Regions from separate parts of the Homo sapiens genome. Here regions 1 and 3 are each linked to region 2. Evidence: promoter capture Hi-C in human tissues and cell types (Jung and others, 2019). All regions are on one chromosome and are shown on one strand. The core of a region is centred on a gene start or on the middle of the fragment in contact, and the rest is flanking DNA. Distances in the headings are between cores, read along the strand shown. Region 1 holds the start of ZNF154 (zinc finger protein 154). Region 2 holds the start of ZNF471 (zinc finger protein 471). Region 3 holds the start of ZNF134 (zinc finger protein 134).

What was found. Contacts are between HindIII fragments. The study calls those that stand out against the background at their distance.
Region 1: a contact is called between the fragment with the promoter of ZNF154 here and the fragment with the promoter of ZNF471 in region 2, in 1 of the 25 tissues and cell types used here (stomach).
Region 3: a contact is called between the fragment with the promoter of ZNF134 here and the fragment with the promoter of ZNF471 in region 2, in 1 of the 25 tissues and cell types used here (pancreas).

The regions. Positions count from the first base shown.
Region 1 is chr19:57,706,680-57,710,676 of GRCh38, forward strand. ZNF154 (zinc finger protein 154) reads right to left here and starts at 2,525. Exons shown (of 3, transcript NM_001085384.3): 1 at 2,260-2,525. The coding sequence starts at 2,292. RefSeq lists enhancers at 2,113-2,752, 2,496-2,625, 2,646-2,705. The HindIII fragment of the contact is 14,166 bases long and covers 1-3,997 here.
Region 2 is chr19:56,505,393-56,509,981 of GRCh38, forward strand. ZNF471 (zinc finger protein 471) reads left to right here and starts at 2,463. Exons shown (of 5, transcript NM_020813.4): 1 at 2,463-2,528. The HindIII fragment of the contact is 4,462 bases long and covers 971-4,589 here.
Region 3 is chr19:57,612,560-57,616,866 of GRCh38, forward strand. ZNF134 (zinc finger protein 134) reads left to right here and starts at 1,683. Exons shown (of 3, transcript NM_003435.5): 1 at 1,683-1,944. It also overlaps a transcript of ZNF530 not described here. RefSeq lists an enhancer at 1,578-1,757 and a silencer at 1,888-1,937. The HindIII fragment of the contact is 8,655 bases long and covers 1-4,307 here.

The DNA.
Region 1 (3,997 bases), core at 1,275-3,774, 1.2 Mb after region 2:
ACCTCCATAGCCACTAACCTCCCTTACCTCTGTTTAGAAAGCCCAAGAATATCACCCACTTATCCAACCAAAAGGCTTGGTCCTTAGCCCCCATTCTGCCCTTCCTGGCCAAATAACCTGTACCACCATGCCTAAAGATTAACCCTTGTAGGCCGGATGCGGTGGCTTACGCCTGTAATCCCAGAACTCTGGGTGGCTGAGGCGGGTGGATCACCTGAGGTTGGGAGTTCAAGACTAGCCTGACCAACATGGAGAAACCCTGTCTCTACTAAATAAATACAAAATTAGCCGGGCGTGGTGGCGCATGCCTGTAATCCCAGCTACTCGGGAGGCTGAGGCAGGAGAATTGCTTGAAGCCGGGAGGCGGAGGTTGTGGTGAGCCAAGCTCGCGCCATTGCACTCTGGCCTGGGCAACAAGAGAGACACTCCATCTCAAAAAAAAAAAAAAAAAATAGAACAACCCTTCTAAATGTAATCCACAGCTCACTCACCTTAGTCCACACAATGACCACCACATTTTGGATGTCTCCATTCTGAAGCACTCCCCAGATTTCCAGACCTGGGTGTTCAGCCACCTACTTAATGCCTACTTAATGTCTCTGAAACATCTCAAACTCTTACATGACCAAATAAAGCTCCTGTTGTCTCCAGTGAATATTACTGTTAATACCAACTTCTCCATCTCAGTTGAAGAACCATGGGGTCATCGCTGAATCCTGTTTCACTCCCTCGCTGTCTACATCAGAAAATTTAGTTGCTCCCTTTAAAAATTTGCATCCAGAATGCAACACATCTCCTAATCAATGACTCTGGTCCATTACCCTGGACTGGCTGTAGCTTCCACTCTGATCTTCTTTCCTCTTCCCTCAACCCCACAGTCTGCTCTCCACGCTAACGGGATGGACCCTGTTAGGACTTTGGTAAGATCACCTCCCTCTTGTAACCCAAATCTCTCATTACCTCCAGAATAGGTACCCAACTTCTCAGGCAGCCACTGCAGTCCTGACTCCTTCCCCCTGCTCTTTGTTCCCAGCTAAAAGGAAACAGATCTATGGTTTCCTCAAAAATCTCAGCTTAGTTTTACTAAGCACTTGCGCCTCCTGATACCAGTGCCAGAGATAACCTTTCACAAGTTTCCACTGGCTGACAAAAATGGGAACACCTCAGTATAACCCCTGTAACCTCTGGCATGGACTTAAGAGCCCTGGGCTTGGAATTTCTCCAGGGCACCAGACCCAGGATTGGGGTAACAGCACTTAAGAATACTAGGAAACCACAATCCCAAGAACATGGGGGTAGAGGCTACTGAGGGACCGAACACTCTCCACTTCCCTATGTGAGTTCCATACGCCCTTCTACAACTGGGAGAACCAGGGAAAGAGGAATGCATCCCTGGTGAGGCTAGATGAGCTCAAGCCTCCCTGTAGCCCTGCCTGGCCCTGAACTCAGGCTGGCTGTTTTACTTTCTGGTCTCAGTGCTGTCACCTCTTGCCAACTGTAGGGCAATGAAAAAAAGATGTAGCCTCCCACTATCTCAATGTCCTCATCGCCCCATCGCTGCTCTTCCTGTGAACAGTCTTTGGAAAAGTTTTTAAACCCTAACATAGGGCGGGCACGGTGGCTCACGCCTGTAATCCCAGCACTTTGGGAGGCCGAGGCAGGAGGATCACTTGTCAGGAGTTCCAGACCAGTCTGGCCAAAATGGTGAAATCCCGTCTCTACTAAAAATACAAAAAATTAGCCGGACGTTGTAATCCCAGCTGCAGGCTTGTAATCCCAGCTGCTGGGGAGGCTGAGGCAGGAGAATCGCTTGAACCCGGGAGTCGGAGGTTGCAGTGACCCGAGATCGCGTCATTGCACTCCAGCCTGGGCGATAAGAGCGAAACTCCGTCTCAAAGAAAAAAAAACTAACATAAATGGCGTCCCTCCTTTGTTCAGAACTCTCCGTGGCTTCTAGCATCCTCACAATGACAGTACAACCCTAGGAGTAACTCCGCCTCATATTCTTCGTTCCCTGCAGAAAACAGCTTTCCGAATTCTCCTGGCTCAGTCGCGCCTCAACCTTTGCACGCGCCGGTTCCTCCGCCTGTCACGCTCTCCCACACCTCGTCACACGCAGTGTCAAAAAAAGGGCCCCACCCACGAACGCCTCAGTGTCCCCGACCCTGGGCAGCGGGGACTCGAGCAGGCGCCCCTCACTGATGGCTTTAGAACGTGGGTGGGGGAAGGTGTGTGAGGACGGGAAGACGCCGCACTCACCTGAGTTGGCGTCCTCAGAGTGGCCGCTGCCATCAGACTCTGCGGGTAGAGCTGGGCCGGGAGCGACGGGCGACATTGGTAGGGACCCGGGGACAGCGGTCCCTATCCCAGGCCTGACGTGGGTCCCCCAGGGCGGCGTCGCCAAGGCTTAGACGCTTTCGTGCAGGAGGGACGACGACTCCCCTCACGCCTTCGTGGCCCCAACTCGGCGCTCTGCTATCTCTGATCCGGTGAACACACCTCAGAGAAGCTAAAATGGCCGCCACGAAGAGGCCCCCCCAAAAGTCCCGTCCTTTCTTTTTGTGACTCTCAAGGAAAGTCGGTTTTCTGAGCTCTTACTGGCTTAGTAGCGTGGCGTTCAACGCAGAGCATTCTAGGTAATGTAGTTTTCATAGATCCCGAGGTGGGTGCCGGGGACCCTTTGCACCAACCTCTTGGAGTAAAAGCGAAGCTCCAGGGCGCTGGGCGATGAGAAATGGCTTATCCAAGTCCTAGGGCAGTGGAGGGACTTCGCCCTTTCTTAAATGGGTCGTAATCAGACAGCATATTAGAGGTGCCATCTGCAACTGATCACCCAAGTGTTTGGGGAATATTATTTCAAACTTCATAAAGTTCAGCAGGCTCCCAGAGGCTAAAATTATTATCAGACGCTCCCTAAGGCTGCCAATCCAAATATGTACATCATTCCATAGAGCCATTCAGACACGAAATATATCCACTAGTAGGGAAGCTAATAAACATTACCATATAAGTTTATTCCTTTTTTTTTTTTTTTAAGACAAAGTTTCCCTCTGTCCCCCAGGCTGGAGTGCAGCGGCGCCATCTGGGATCACTGCAACCTCCGCCTCCCGGGTTAATCGATTCTCGTGCCTCAACCTTCCAAGTAGCTGGGACTATAGGCGCGCGCCACCACGCCAGGCTAATTTTTTGTATTTTCAGTAGAGACAGGGTTTCACTATGGTGGTCCCAAATTCCTGGCCCCAGGTGATCTGCCCGCCTCGGCCTCTCAAAGTGCTGGGATTACAGGCGTAAGCCACCGTACCCAGCCTCTATCATATTACATTTCAAATGTATGCACTCCGAAGCATTGAAGTCAGTCTGTGCACTTTTGGTCAGGGACAGGTGAAAAACTACTTCAGATAGTGGCATGATAGTGCTTCTAGAAGATAGAAGAGAAATGTTAGATCACCTTGAAACAGTAGTACAAAGGTAGAATTCTGTCTGATTCCAACAGAAAACATCTTTTGCCTGCATAGTCAATTATTGTGTCCAATTACTGTGTCCAGTCAATAACTGTGTCCAATTCACTGAGCAACGCTTTTATCCATTTCATAATTCTTACTTGATATCTGAGATATATTCCTTCTAGAAGTCTAACATCAATCTCAAAAAACAATGAAAGAAATGCTACTTTGATAAGAGACAAAGGGGAGAGGTGGGACTTCTTAATCAGAAAGCCGGTGAAATGCACTTGAAGGAAGTGAGAAATGAGCCATGTGGGTATTTTTAGAATAAATTCCAGGCAGAAGAAGCAGGTTACTAGAGTGCCTGGATGGATGGAGACTTCACAGGGCATTTCAGCATTGGAGGGCCTAGGGCTCCAACCCAGCAGGCCTTCATCTGCTTTGCTGGCTGCAGAGACACTCAGGGTATATAGGTGAGAAATCTCTTCTTTTTTTTTTTTCTTTTTTTTTGAGATGGAGTTTCACTCTTATTGCCCAGGCTGGAGTGCAATGAC
Region 2 (4,589 bases), core at 1,213-3,712:
GGCTTTGGAAAAAGTCCCTTATTGTTTAAATCTTCAACTGTAAAGTTAGTTATTCAATTTTATTTTTACAAGAATTATGTGAGATAATACCTTTGATGGCCCATGAACAAAAATGTGGTATATATAAAGTAAAAATTAGATAAAGAAAACATTATATATGTAATGTAATGATAATTTAATATATAGTATGATAATGGAAATACCCCTTACTTCCTTGGTGGGATGAATGAGGACAGAAGAATCAAAATAATCTCTTGTTATTGGTTGAATTTTGTCTGCCCCAAATTTTGCATGTTGAAGTCCTAACTCCCAGTACCTCAGAATGTGACTGTATTTGGATATAGGATTTTTACAGAGTTAATTAAGTTGAAATGAGGTCGTTAGGGTGGGTCCTAATGCAATCTGACTAGTCTCACCATGTCTCCATGGGTTTTCTCTGGGTACTCCAGATTCCTCCCACATCCCAAAGATGTGCACAGTAAGTTAACTGGTATGTCTAAGTTGTCCCAGTCTGAGTGAGTGTGGGTGTGTAGTAGGCTACACAATCTAGGTTTGTGTAAGTACACTCTATGATGTTTGCACAACAAGGTTCTTAGGAAATTGCCTAAGAACCCATTTCTCAGAATGTATCTCCATCCTTTAGCGATGTAGACTGTATTTCCATACTGTAAATAGTCCCCTTGTGGTGGATTTCAATCTACCAATATGACATCACTGAATGTGGAGTTAGAAAGAAAGGTACAGTTCATGGCTCTCAGTTCCTACAGCTCTTTTAATTTCCTAAATGACTGCAGCAATAAAGTATCTTTTGTTAAAATATCTGGCCTTTTGTTCCTGGTTCCTGAAAAAGCTCCAGAACAGCTCCAGAGCCATAAAGGTGAAAGACAGTATTTCAACCACACATGAGTTTATGTTAATGAGGTGATTTTTGGAAACTCTCAAGATAATCCCAATATTTGGGGGGAGTGGTGGCTAGTTGCCAGAGGAACCAGCCATGTGCTCAGAGGACTGGAACTCACAGCTCCACCCTCTACTTCTGGGAAAAGAGAGAGCCTGAAAATTAAGTTGATCGCCAGTGGCCAATGATTTAATCAATCACATCTACATAATGAAACCTTGAAAACCGAAAAGGCCTGAGTTCAAGCGGCTTCCAAGAAGGTAGACAAAAACACATCCTCGTGCTGGGAGGGTGGTGCACCCCAACTCCACGGGCACAGAAGTTCCTGCACTAGGGATTCTCTCGGACCTTGCCCTACATGTCTCTTCATCTGGCTATTTGTATCCTTTAAAATATCTTTTATAATAAACCAGTAAACATAAGTGTTTCCTTGAGTTCTGTGAGCTGCTCTAGCAAACTAATGGAACCCAAGGAGCCGGCTGTGGGAGCCCCAATTTATAGCACATCTCTCTGAAACACAGGTACAACAATCTGGAGTTTGGAATTGGCATGGGAAGTGGGGGACAGTCTTTTGGGACTGAGCTGTCTAACCTGTAGGATCTGATGTTTTCCAGGTAGCGTCAGAATTGAATTGGAGTAGCGGTCACCTGGCTGGTGTCTGCTGCAGACAGGTTTTTTTGACATGTTAAGACATTATAAGAGACAATAGAAAAAATGTATACGATACAACCTTCTCTGAGTTATATTTCTCCATAGCCCTTTTTACTGTTCATCAGACTGTTTATCTAACTCATGAATTTGTGGCTTGTCTCTCTCCGCTTCAAAGTAAATTACATAATAAGAGGACAGGGATTTTTTTTTCTCTGCTGTATCCCCCTGAATTGCTTTTCCTTATTTGTCTCACCTTCCAATACTAATTCTACAGTTCTCCTAGTCAGGGCTAGTCCCCTAAAACGGGGACCATTTCCATTTTGTTAAGGGGCTGAACGCGGTTCAAGCCTAGCAGATTGGTTCCAAAAACGTCGTGTTATTCACTGCCTCTGATCAGTGACATTCCCATTTGCAGCTGAAAGAGGTATTAATTCGCCAGAGTCACAACACGGTCGGGGTTCCTCGTCGCTGTCTTATTCCAAAATAAGCTTAACACAGAAAGATAATGACACTCCCACGGACTGGCACAGAAGGCCGCGCTCCGAATGACATCGCGATCACAGAGGCACAGACAGCGTCACAAAGCCCCACGCGTACTCACACCGAAGGCTCAGCCGTCGCGCGTTTCCCTCCCAGGCCCCAGGAACTAGTAACTAGGGACGCTTCTGGTCTCTAGGCGAGGAGAGGGGGAGAGCGCAATCTTTGCGCCTGCGCACACTCCTGCTCTTACCCGCCGGAACCCTGGGCCACGCCCGGCTCGCGTAATCACGCACTGCGCAGGCACCGCCCGCTCTGCTCTAAGGTCCCTCTCACTCCTTCAGCAGCCCGAGGACAATCCCCTCAACACTAGGCCACGCCTTGTCTCCGCCCCTCTCGTCCGACCCCTGGAGAGAGGCTGGCGCCTGCGCGATGGGGGGTTCCAGCGTCGACTCACGGAGTCCTTCGGATGAGAGCGTCTGGGTGCCAGACGAGGCCGGGGGTTTGTTTTGGGTGGTTTGGGAGTCCGAGCTCGAGGGCTGGGCCAGGAAGGGCAGGCGAGGCGGGCGGCTCCGACGCGGGTCGCGAAGGCCCAGCCGCGTCCTCTGTCCCCAGGACGACTACATTTCCCAGAGGCCAGCGGGGCGCGCGTACTCGAGTCTGCGGGGCGGAGGCCGCGGCTCGGGGCTGCTGGGCGTTCGGGGCGGCTTGGGGCGGCGGGACCACTGGAGTGAGCTGTGGGAGAGATGGGGGTGTGCCTGTGTGTAAAAGATCTGTCAGAGTGTGAGGCTCCGTGAGAGGGTGTGGTTTCTGTGTGTGTGTGTGTGTGTGTGTGACAGACCGAGAGTCCAGTGTGAGACCAGGGTATGTTCGTGTGTGACAGAGCGAGACGGGCCAGTGTGAGAGACCAGTGAGTGTGAGAGAGATAGGGATGTGCCTGCATTTGAAAGAGAGCGTGTGAAGCTCAGTGAGAGGTTGCGAGGTGTGTGGGTGTGTAAGTGTGTAACAGACCAGGTGTCCAGAGCGTGAGACCAGGATGTATTCGTGTGAGAGAGTGAGACGGGCTGGATGGAGTGTGAGAGACCAGTGAGTGTGAGAGATGGGCGTGTGCCTGTGTGTGAAAGGCCGGTCGGTCGGTGGGTGAGGCTCAATGAGAGGCCGGTGTGTGTTCGAGAGAGAGAAGAATCACCATGTATGCGAGACTAGACTGTGCAAGAACAGAGTGTGAGACTGTGGTATGTTAATGTGTGAAAGGGAGACCAGTGAGTGTGAGAAATGGGTGTTTTGGGTGAAAGACCCGTCAGTGTGTGAGGCCGTGTTATGTGTGTCTGACAGACTGAGAGAGACCAGAGTGTGAGACCAGGGTGTGTTCGTGTGTGAGAGACAACATAGCGTGAGACCAGTGAGTGTGAGAGAGATGAGCACGTGGCTGTGTGTGAAAGACCAGTCATTATGTGAGGCTCCTTGAGAGGCTGGTGTGTGTGTATGAGAGAGAGAAAGAGACTAAACTGTGAGAGTCCAAAGAGTGAGACTAGGTTATGTTGTTATGAGTTTGTGAGAGAGAGGGAGGCGATCAAAGTATAGGACAAAGTTATGTTTCCTGGCTTACGACTTCTAAGATCCTTGGAATCTCCAAAGTATTAAGTGTCTTTTTGCATGCTAATGATTGGTGGGCTGGCAGCCTGTAGGTTGATCACGGTAAGGGATGGTCACAAGAACAATCTAGGCAGGATTAGAGGGTTGGGATTACCTGCCCCATCCCTCAATCTCCAGGGAAAGGAAAGGGAGCCACAGGTTAAACTGATCATCAGTGGTCAGTGATTTAACCAGTCATGCCTACATTATGAAGCTTCCATAAAAACCCAAAAGGACTGGGTTCATCAAACTTCCAGATAGCTGAACACTGGAGGTTCCTGTAGGATGAGCCCCTTCCTATATAACCTTGTCCTATGCATTTCTTCACCTGCATCCTTTGTAATATCCTTTATTACTACAAACGTGTTTCCCTAAGTTCTGTGAGCTGCCCTAGCAAATTAATTGAACGCAAGGAGGGGGTCATAGGAACCCCGATTTATAGCTAGTCAGAAGCACAAGTAAAACAACCTGGGGTTTGCAACTGGCATTGGAAGTGGGGAGCAATTTTGTAGGGCTGAGCCCTCAACCTGTGGGATCTTATGCTGTCTCCAGGTAGATAGTGTCAGAATTGGGTTGCCCTAGAGGTCACCCACCTGGTATTCACTGGGTTGCCCTAGAGGTCACCCACCTGGTATTCACTGAAGAACTTATTGCTTGCCTGGTGTGTGTGTGTGTGTGTGTGTGTGTGTGTGTGTGTGTGTAGATCCCCACACATCTGGTCTTAGAACTGTTTTGTGTTGTGTGAGTGGAGTAGGAGAAACAGTTTGTTTTTCCTCTTTGTCACCTGAGTGTGTTATCAGGGACTGGATTGTGAGAATCCAGAGTGTGAGACCAGGGTATATCAATGTGTGAGAGAAATAGATGTGCCTGTGTGAAAGATGAACAAGTATGAGGCTCCCTGGAGTCTGAGAAAGATCATGTGTGTGTC
Region 3 (4,307 bases), core at 433-2,932, 1.1 Mb after region 2:
AATCCCAACTTTTTGGGAGGCTGAGGTGGGAGGATCCCTTGAGCCCAAGAGTTTGAGGCTGCAGCAAGCTATGATCGTGCCACTACACTCCAGCCTGTGCAACACAGTGAGATCCTGTCTCCAAAATTAAATAAATAAATAAAATTACATTTTGGAGACTAAACGCTGCTTGTAGTCATAGTTCTAACACAGCTGTGTGCTCAGCTTCATTTGCTCACTTCTCAGAATTCAATGTCTCCTGCTCAAATTTTGCTGTCATCTTAACCGTTTTCACTTATCACAGATATGTTTCTCCAGGTCCATTTCGTCATGTATCTGTGAATAACTACAGAATTATTAACTTTGAGTAATTTGGCCGGGCGCGGGGGCTCTCCTGTAATCCCAGCACTTTGGGAGGCTGAGGCGGGCAGATCACGAGGTCAGGAGATCGAGACCATCCTGGCTAACACGGTGAAACCCCATCTCTACTAAAAATACAAAAAGTTAGCCGGGCATGGTGGCAGGCGCCTGTAATCCCAGCTACTCCGGAGGCTGAGGCAGGAGAATAGTGTGAACCTGGGAGGCGGAGCCTGCAGTGAGCTATGGTCGCACCACTGCACTCCAGCCTGGGCGACTGAGCAAGACTCCGTCTCAAAAAAAAAAAACACAAAACAACTTTTGAGTAATTTAAACAATTCACAAATGTTTTTGTCTTTCTTTCCCCATACACTCGCCCTTTTCTTTTTTAAAACCATAAATAAATCTCAATTCTCAATTCAGACACTGTCGGTGTAATTGCAGGTGAAATGAGAATCACCTCCCAGCCAAGAAATCTGATCCCAATTTTCCAAATCTTTATTTCTGGGTTCAGACACCACATTTTCAGCCCCTGTCTTGGCATATAAAAGCATTTATAATGGTTCTTCTTTTCAGATAAGAAACATCACCAAAAGGAAATAGATATATCTCAACTTTTGGGCTAGGAACTCTCATTTGGATAAAAGAATATTTCTCCTTTGGTTGGACATTAGTGACCATACAGGCAGGAAAGGTGCCTTCCTTGACCACCTTCTCTCGCCTGTCTTCCTCCTCATGGTTCTCTCAGGTATTTTTTTTCTGAGGAAACCAGAGGAAGAGCTCTATATTAGTCCACTTGCCTCAGGGAGCTCCAGCATCCCTCCATAGCCACTGTCTGGAGACCATTCTTCCACTCCATGGCCCTGCCTGGGGACAATTCTCTGTTAACTCTGACCCAACTGAGGCTCACAAAACTGACTCAAAGCTTCCCTCTACAGTACACATATTTTTTAAATGAAGGAAATTTGACTGAACTATGAGTGGACTCAGAGTGACATTGGATGTTGTGTGTCCATTTGGTGGTGTGGCTTCAGGGAACATCTGTAAGAATATATCCCAATATTTCGGGGATCCCTGCAGACCTCACTACACAAGACCTGGTTGAGGGTCCTTTAAAAGGAGCGAAGCCACGCCCTGACCTCAGAGTCTCAGGGCATAATTTCTCAGCGCCCCTCGCAGTACCATTTGGCCTTTGCCCAGCGTGCAGGGGAGTTAGCCGTCACCACGGCCAAGTGCACATGAGAACTGCATTGCCCAGAAACCTGTGCGCCGCCCGGCGGCGGCACTCTTAGGGGCGTCTCCCTGCGGACGGAAGCTCTCTGGGCGGGACTTCCGGTATCTTCCTCGCGGTGGACATCTTGTCGGCTCTTAGGTGGAACCATCGGAGCAGAAGCTCGGGGTTGCTGGGCGGTTCCGAGGTGACGGAAGCGGGAGGGTGCGGGAGAAGTCGCTGTTCGCTCTGCGGAGTGGCTCGCCAGCGAAGACCCCGCCTGCGCCCCCGGGGACGGACGACCGCGGTGCCAGGGTCCCGCGACCTGGGACCCCCTCGCGGCTCCGGGTGGTCTACGAACTGTGATGGCGGCGGCCGCGGTGATGGGCCCGGCGCAGGTGGGTGCTGCCTTTCCCAGACTTTCGCCCGCCCCAAATCCTGAAGTTCCAAATGAGGAGCGCCTGTCTGAGTCCCTGCAGCGCAGGCCCCAGTGTCCAAGGCAGCGGGGCGCTGGTGGGTGGGGGCGAGTGTGACTGGCAGAGGGGCAGCCTGAGCATAGGTTTGGAGCTGGACTGAGCCCGTAGCAGTCGGGAGCGTGTGTGAACCGTAGTCAGGCCTGCAATGTCGAGGGGAGAAGTTGCTCCTTCATTGCGAGGACGATAGGAGCCATGGCGGGTTTTGAATGGTGGAGGGAAGGGATCCGAAAAAGGATTTTTAAAGTATTCCAATGTTTGCTGAGGAGGAAACCGACTACAGTGAGGTAGAAACGATGAGGATGGAGGCAAGGAGACGTTTGAGGAGGTCCCTGCAACAAACTCCAGAAGTGTTGCGGTGGTGGCTGGGCCAGAGCAGTGGCAGGAGGGGTTGGGTGGGGAAGTCATGAGATTCTGGGTAGATTTTTAAAGATGGAACCAATGGGGTTTCCTGCCGCATCAGATGTGGTCGTGAGTGAATGTAGGGAGGAAAGGGCTATCCAGGGTTTTTTTGGCCTGTTTTCCTTCCTGAACGTGTGAAAGAATGGAAATTGGTAAGTCACAGCAGGGAGCACGTTTCAGGGGCATCAGGAATTGGGTTTTGGACTTGGTGAATCTAAGGTGTTCTGCACTGGAGGTTCATCACGGGTAGCTGAACATGCAGGTCTGGGGTTCTAGAGAGGGAGTTGTGCTAGAGACTTCAATGGGTGAGGCATAAGGTCAAAGCCTGTAGTAGATCAGATTTAGAGGGTGGAATTTCAAGGAAGTTATTTTGTGTGGTCTCTGAAGTGAGAGGTGGGTTTAGGGTGGAAGGCCAGGGATGAAGGGGTGGACACTTAAGATTCCTTCCAGAAAGGAGGGGTCCTGGCATGTGAAAGCATTCTAGATGGTGTTGTTGGAAGTCAATGCTTGGTGCTGCAAAGTGAAACCAGCACTCAGGCAAAAGTTTTCTCAGCAAGGCAATTTACTTCTGTGCAAGTGTGCTGCCTGTGTTAATCACGATCCCAAGAGCACACTGAACAAAGGAGGGAAGGGGTTTTTATCTCTAACCCATAGTCCCTACCTTCCTCTGTGTCACTCCCCCATGGGCTGGGGTCGGACCGCTTAATCTAAGCTGAGCCAATTGGGTATTTGTGAGTATTTTCCAAATAAGGAAGAGGGAAGGGGAAGGTGAGTTACAGTGGTGGGACATGTGAGTTGTGTAGGACGTGTGGTTTTGGCGGGGGCAATGGGTGCAAAGTGAGTAAGGGAACAGATGTGAATTATTGGTTAGTGCTTACAGGAAGGTTGTTTATAGTAACTAGGGGCAAGGAGGCATGGAGAACAAGAAAGGTTTGAGAACAAAGAACAAGGAAGTTAACAGGCTAAACCTTTGAAGAGGAATTTTATTATATCTTATAGTGTCAGCAAGAGGAGAGGGCTGTAGAGCATAAGTAGCCTGGCCTGCACTGGAGACCAAGGTGAGGGATGCAGTAGGTTTGCCACCCTACAGGCTCAGCATGCCTTCATGGGCGCTGCCTGTGGAGCAGTCCCATCCCCAACCAGTGCATTGGTGCCTCAGTTACCCAAACCCTCAGGTAAGCAGAATTGATGAACATCTCTAATGAAGGATCACTGCAGCTCCCCTTCAGAGGAATATGTATCAGGTAGGCTGGTTTAGTGCAAGGGCTAGTGTACACCTTGCAAGTACGCAGAAGGAACTAAAAAATGTATGTACAAAGTAAGGGAAATTTATACTAGCACTTAATGATTGGTCAAAATATTAAGTTGCCTTGAAGTATTTTATTACAATGGAAAAATCTTAACCAAATTTTCTTAAAAGCTTTAAAGCAGGCAAAACAAACCTAATTTTTCAAAAACTCATCAGTTCATTTGCATGGATAGTAGTAGCTGTTTCAAAGGCACTTGAGATGTACAGACAAGCCTGATACAAACAGTAGCCCTATGAGGTGGGTGCCATTATTATCCCCACTTTTAAGATGAGGACACTCAGACGCTGGTCTTTATGTTCACACAGCTGGTGGGAGCCAGCACTGAGATCTGAGTATCTGAAGTTAGAGAGGTAACCCAAAATCATTCCTGCCAAAGGGCAGGGTAGGCAGGGCTTAGGGAAACAGTTCAGTCGATGAGATCCCACTGTGGGAACCTGCCACTCCCAGCTTCCCTCCTCTTGTGAGGTTGCCATGGTGGCAGAAACTTATGATTCCTACCTAGATGAGAGTAGATTGTCTCAGGCCCTCACTTAGCCCAACACACCCCCATTATCTCAGCAACTCAGTGTGGAGAAT